2 separate regions of the Homo sapiens genome follow, and region 1 is linked to region 2. The links are contacts of gene promoters, found by promoter capture Hi-C in blood cells and fetal thymus (Javierre and others, 2016). All regions are on one chromosome and are shown on one strand. Each heading gives the region's core, a stretch centred on a gene start or on the middle of the fragment in contact. The rest is flanking DNA. Distances are from core to core; before and after follow the strand shown. Region 1 overlaps CLSTN3 (calsyntenin 3). Region 2 holds the start of DPPA3 (developmental pluripotency associated 3).

Region 1 (2,911 bases), core at 126-2,625, 560 kb before region 2:
GGCCAGCTCCTCTGATGCCCCCAGGGATTCAGTCTGGCTTCCTCTCCTTGTGCAACGGCCACCACCTACACTGTCTCTTATTTTATTTTATTTTATTTTTCTGGGACTGGCTCCCTTCTTCCTTGCTGTCCCTGAAAACAACCGCAGAGGCTTTTGGGAGGGAGAGACAGGGTCTTGTTCTGTCGCCTAGGCTGGAGAGCAGTGGTAATCCTAGCTCACTGGAGCCTCGAACTCCTGAGCTCAAGCAATCCTCCTGCCTTAGCCCCCTGAGGAGCAGATGCATGCCACTATGCCTGGCTATTTTTAAGACTTTTTATAGAGACAAGGTCTCACTTTGTTGCTCAGGCTGGTCTTGAACTCCTAGGCTCAAGCGGTCATCCTGGCTCAGCTTCCCGGAGTGCTGGGATTACAGGTGTGAGCCGCCGCACTTGGACTTGCAGACGCCTTTTTCAGTGTTCTACTGTGATTCACTATAGCAAGTAGGTGGAAGTGAGGATTAGCGGGGAATATAAGGCATAACCAAGCTGCAAAGATTAGAGAAGTTTCACATAGTATTTAGTCAATAGAGACATGTTAGCAAGCTAAACCTATTTATTTCAAATAAACTCTTGAGGCCAGCTATAAATTTTTTTCCTTCTTGTGATTCCATAGCACTTTCTCCAGTTCTTTCATTGGGGATCATTCCACTCAATCTTTTCTGGTTGGATACTAGGTCCTGCTACTCTGATTAGGCTCAAGGTAGATAGGGGTGCTGCCTGGCCTGGTGAGATTCTCGATCCTTACTTTCTTTGGTATAAGGCCCCAGGTGAGAGACTTCTTGTTCTAGGAGCCCAGCACCTTCTCCCCTGAGTGTCCAGCTGCCCTGCATGGGCTGGTCTGGCGGGCAGCGTTTCTCACCCCTCAGCCCCTGGAGGAGTGTCTGTTCACGGCACCCTTTCACCTCCCCTCGGTGAAGCCCAGTCTCCCCATCCTTTGTTCTGAGCTCATGTCCAGGCTGATCAAGCTTCCCTCAGATTTCAGTTGAGAGCAGCAGTTTTCCTTTGCTTCTTCTCTTATTTTGACCTGAATAGGACACAGAGTTCGTAGCTTCCCTGAGGGCACTGGTGATTGGCATGCCTGAGCTGACAGGCCATTCACGGCATAAAACCCTTTCCATATGCCTTTTCTGACTCCGCAAGGTGCTCCCTCCCTTTCACCTACAAATCTCGAGTGGTGTTGCAGAACTGTGGTTTCACAATATCAAACCATTCTAAACATGCAGAAGCAGTGAGAGGTACGATCTCCTCCAGTGGCACGGAGGCCCATTGCTCTAAATCTCCTAAGTGCACTAGAGAAAGAGAGATGAATGTGAACTGGAACCAGGGTAAACTGGAACAGTCAGGGGAGATTTTGTGGCACATGTAGAGTTTGCATTTGGACCTGAACTGTAAAAGGGATTTTTGGATGGGTGTGAGAGAGAATGGGAATTTGAGAACCGGGGGTAGATAGGTGGTTAAGAGTGTTTATGGTTAGAGAGAATAAGGTTGGTTGAGAAGAGCAAGCCGGATGATGAGGGTATTATGTATCTACTCATATCAAATTTTGATGACTGCCAGAATCACCTGGGGAGCTTTAAAAACTCTCGGCACCTAAATTATACCCTAGAATGTCTAGGGGGTGGGAGCCACGTGTCAGTGGTTTTTAAAAATCCCATGTAATCTTTAAAAGTTTGGGAATAATTTTCCTCTTTTGTTTCCTACAAGTATCTGAAGCTTTGCAGAAAGAGTTACAAAGCAATAGGACAAAAAGAAAATGAATGAGGAAGTAAGGAGGAACAGGTAATGATGAAATAAGGATCCAATGAAGCCAGGGAATAAAGTCAGCTCATAACATGCGTACTATGAGATGCTATGCAGTTGCTACCACGGGCCAGAATTTTGACCCTGAGCTTCTTCAAAGCTAAAGCAAAAGGAAACCTGAGCAGTTCTGAGAGCCGTGATAGGAGCCAAACGCTATTTCATGAAAAGCCCTGGGAGTGCGGGGGGCAGAAAGAAATCTCTCCCAAGGCTCTTTGCAAAGAGAGCACCGTGTGGGGCCATGGACAGGGCTTTCCACTGTCCTCGCAATCCCATGGACCATTTGCTAAGTCACCCCTTAATGTTGGCTCTGGAGGTCATTCAAGGCCAGAATTAACTGCTCAGATCTCATGTAGCAAGAAAAGCTGAACGCACTTCTTAAATTCTTGATTTTTATCTGTAGCTGATTTAAAAATCCTCCCATCTCCCCGGGCTCCTGACTCATCTTAAACTAATTAACCAGACTTGTTTGCTTGTAGATAGAGTGTCTGCATTTTGTCTTTCCTGTGGTCATTTCTTATTGTCCTGGCAATCAACTTGTCATTTCCTTCATTAGGCCAGGAGCTCGGAGGGACACTGCATTGATTAGGGCGCAAACCAGCTTTAGCTCGTCATCGTTGTGTGCTTAGAGGAAGTTCACCTGCTTTGGCCTCCACTCTGAGGGTGGGGTCACCACCCCTTCTGGAGCCTGGGCTTAGCCACTGGGCCCATCTGCCAGTGAAGGCACTGCCCCTGGCTCTGGTCTGTTGACGTGGAGACCTGAGAGACACTATTTCCTGCAGATGGGCAGGAGAGACAGCTCTGTCCCCTCCTCCCTTATCCCCCGTTCCCAGGAAGTTGAGAAATACTGATCCAGCCAGTCCTGTCTTCACCTTGGAACCAGTGTCGAGGGAGTGTGCCCCAGCAGAGTCCGTTCTAATTGGCTGGTGGCCTCAAGTGGGCTGTGGGTCAGGATGGGGACCAACTTGGCAGACAGCCATCAGGGTGGCCTCAGGGAGGTGTGTGGCCTGCCCAGGCAGGGCATTCTCCACACACCTAGTTGGCCCTGGAGTGCGTGGCAGCTGAGTGTGCTGGCT
Region 2 (3,112 bases), core at 59-2,558:
GAGGGAGATTAGCCAAGAGCTGAACAACAGAAGTAGAAAGTTCACAGTGCCGTAAAGCAGGGCTGCTTAACTTGAGCACCCATCAGAATCACCTGGGGATCACTTCTGGGTCTTCTGGCTAAATGCAGAATTGCCTGGGAGGCTTGTTAAAGCATTACCACTGGGCGCCAGTCTTTGATTCAGTAGGGCTGGTTTGGAGCTCAGAATTTGTATATCTAAGTTAACTAGGTGCTTGTTGTAAACTGCACTTTTTTTTTTTTCCCAAGAGGCAGGGTCCTGCCCTGTCTACCAGGCTGGAGTGCAGTGGCACGATCATAGGTCACTGCAGCCTTTAACTGCTGGGTGATTAAGCGATCCTGGAGACCACACTTTTGAGAATCACTTGCATAAAGTGTTGGGACATGATCTATGCCTATGGCTGCTCATTCTCTATGAAAATATTTCTTAATCATAACTTCAATTTTTGCTTTTTACCAAACCCAAACAAGGTTGCCTTTGAGTATTTTCTCGTGGTTTCCACCTAGAGAGGGAATGGGGGAACGTGCGTATTTGAATAAGACGGGAAAAAGATGAGAGGGGCAGCTGGGGACTTGTTCTTCCACCTCCTGCAGACAATCAGTGGTTAAATGTTGTTGTGCTTTGCTACAAATACAAGCATTTTTTTGTGGGGAGGGAGTAGCAATTTGTAAGGTTAGTTAATTTCAGCTGCTCAGAAATGTTAGGTACTGTTTATAGTTTATAAAGCAAATTAACAAATAAAAAATACATGTCCCTAAAATATCAAGCTATGAAAGTGTTCATAACAGATACTTCTTCATTATTCCTCTCTTCTTAGTAGCAGCAAAGGTTTAAGATGATTGAAGCAAGGAAAACTTAAAGGAAACTTTCTCAGCTTAATTGGGAGTTTATGGGCAGTGGTGGTGGTGGGGCGGGGGCGGTAAAAACTGCCATTCTCCTCTGCACTAGAACACTTAAGCCCAGTTCACAAAACAGAAGCCATCTCCAGGAGTAGAGTTTGGGAAAAAAAAAAAAAAAAAAAAACAAGAAAAAAACAACTTATATGTAAGGCAACCTCAGGGAGACAGAACCACAAAAAGAGGATTTTAATAAATTTTCTAGCAGATATGACATCCGACAGATTATTTTAATGCAAAGCAGATGAAGAACTACCCTATGAGTCTAAACTACACCCATTCACCTTTAATCATTTGGATCCCTTAATCCTCTAATCATGGGATCATTAACATTCAAATATCCTGGAAGATTGGCTTATCTGTATTTTAAAAGGAAGCCGGACCTATAGTTTACGTCAGTTCTTTGACCATTCGTTGGAGCTCCGGTTTTCAGCCTCTTTCCGGGCTACCTGGTAGCAATTTGAGGCTCTGTCATCAGTTTCTGCTACGTTTCAAAGATCCTGGAGAAGCCTAGTGTTGTGTCAAGACGCCGATGGACCCATCACAGTTTAATCCAACCTACATCCCAGGGTCTCCACAAATGCTCACCGAAGAAAATTCCCGGGACGATTCAGGTAAGCCAGATAATGCCCTTCTTGACTATCTGACTATAGGGGGGTTGGGAGGTCAAAAGGCTGCCGTCTTTTTTTTTTTTTTTTTTTTTTTTTTTTTAATGTTGACTTCAGTCTTTGCAAGAGGAATGTATTTAGGTAAACCTCAAACCAGAGGGAGTCAACACAGAGAGGTCAAAGACTTTATTAAAAGCGGTGATGGTGGTGGTGAGAAATGTATTATTTTATTCACTATGCTTAGGAGTACTTCAGATTTCTTTCTTTTTTTTTCTTTTTTTTTTTTTGAGACGGAGTCTTGCTCTGTCGCCCAGGCTGGAGTGCAGTGGCGCGATCTCGGCTCACTCCAAGTTCCGCCTCCTGGGTTCACGCCATTCTCCTGCCTCAGCCTCCCAAGTAGCTGGGACTACAGGCGCCCGCCACCGCGCCCGTTTTTTTTTTTGTATTTTTGGTAGAGACGGGGTTTCACCGTGTTAGCCAGGGTGGTCTTGATCTCCTTACCTCGTGATCCGCCCGCCTCGGCCTCCCAAAGTACTGGGATTACAGGCTTGAGCCACTGCGCCCGGCCAGTACTTCAGATTTCTAAGACCAGTTTCTGGGGATAAATAATTGGAATCACAGAACGCGGCTCGTAGCGTCGTTGCATCAGTATCTTCCCCAACAGCAAATACATGTCAGGAACGGTAAAAAGGAACAAATACAGAGACCAAATAAACAAAAGATAGGGAAAAAAAATGAAACAATATGAGAAACTTTAACTTCAGTTGAACCTAAAGTTTTTCTTAATCTCTCGCCAACATTATTTTTATTTATATATTTTTTTGAGACGGAGTCTCTGTCGCCCGGGCTGGAGTGCAGTGGCGCGGTGTCGGCTCACTGCAACCTCCGCCTCTCGGGTTCAAGCAATTCTCCTGTCTCAGCCTCCAAAGTAGCTGGATTACAGGCATGTGCCACCACGCCCGGCTAATCTTTTGTATTTTTAGTAGAGACAGGGTTTCACTATGTTGGCCAGACTGGTCTCGATCTCCTGACGTCGTGATCCGCCCACCTCTGCCTCCCAAAGTGCTGGGATTACAGGCGTAAGCCAGCGCGCCCGTCCTATTTTTATTTTTATTTTTATTTTTGACAGTGGGTCTCTCCATGTTGCCCAGGCTGGTATCGAACACTTGGGTTCAGTCCATCCTCTTGCGTAGCTGGGACTGCAGGCGTGCGCCACCGAGTCCGGGCTCTAAGCCAACATTTTTGAGACAGGCTTTCCAGCTAAATGTTAATAAACAGACTAACAGCTTCACTGGGAAAATGGAAGGGAGAGGCCGTAAACGTGCTCCGTAATGTAAATTAGTAGCAGGACCTCCACCGGAGGGCGGCTTATCTAGAAACTGCTTGGGTAATTCTGCTCCCTGATAGGCCGGGTCTTCCGGTGGAGAACTCCTTTCTTACAGCAGCACCCAAGCGCGGGCTTGGCCACAGAGGCCCTCCACGTGGTTTGAAGTCTTATTTATGACCCTGACAGCGGGGCTGGGTGTCTAGGGTGGTGGCGGCAGAAACCCTGGAGCCAACACCTTCGACTGCCCGATGCTGGGAGGTCTG

The links. The method cuts DNA at HindIII sites, captures the fragments that hold promoters and counts their contacts. A CHiCAGO score of 5 or more calls a contact.
Region 1: a contact is called between a fragment that was not itself captured here and the fragment with the promoter of DPPA3 in region 2, in 1 of 17 cell types (M1 macrophages). The highest score is 5.1, in M1 macrophages.

What each region holds. Positions count from the first base shown.
Region 1 is chr12:7,153,011-7,155,921 of GRCh38, forward strand. All of the region lies in intron 16 of CLSTN3 (calsyntenin 3), which reads left to right. Among named protein-coding and RNA genes, the nearest start is that of CLSTN3, 24 kb to the left of the region's middle. The HindIII fragment of the contact is 748 bases long and covers 1,002-1,749 here.
Region 2 is chr12:7,710,125-7,713,236 of GRCh38, forward strand. DPPA3 (developmental pluripotency associated 3) reads left to right here and starts at 1,309. Exons shown (of 4, transcript NM_199286.4): 1 at 1,309-1,528. The coding sequence starts at 1,447. The HindIII fragment of the contact is 13,723 bases long and covers 1-3,112 here.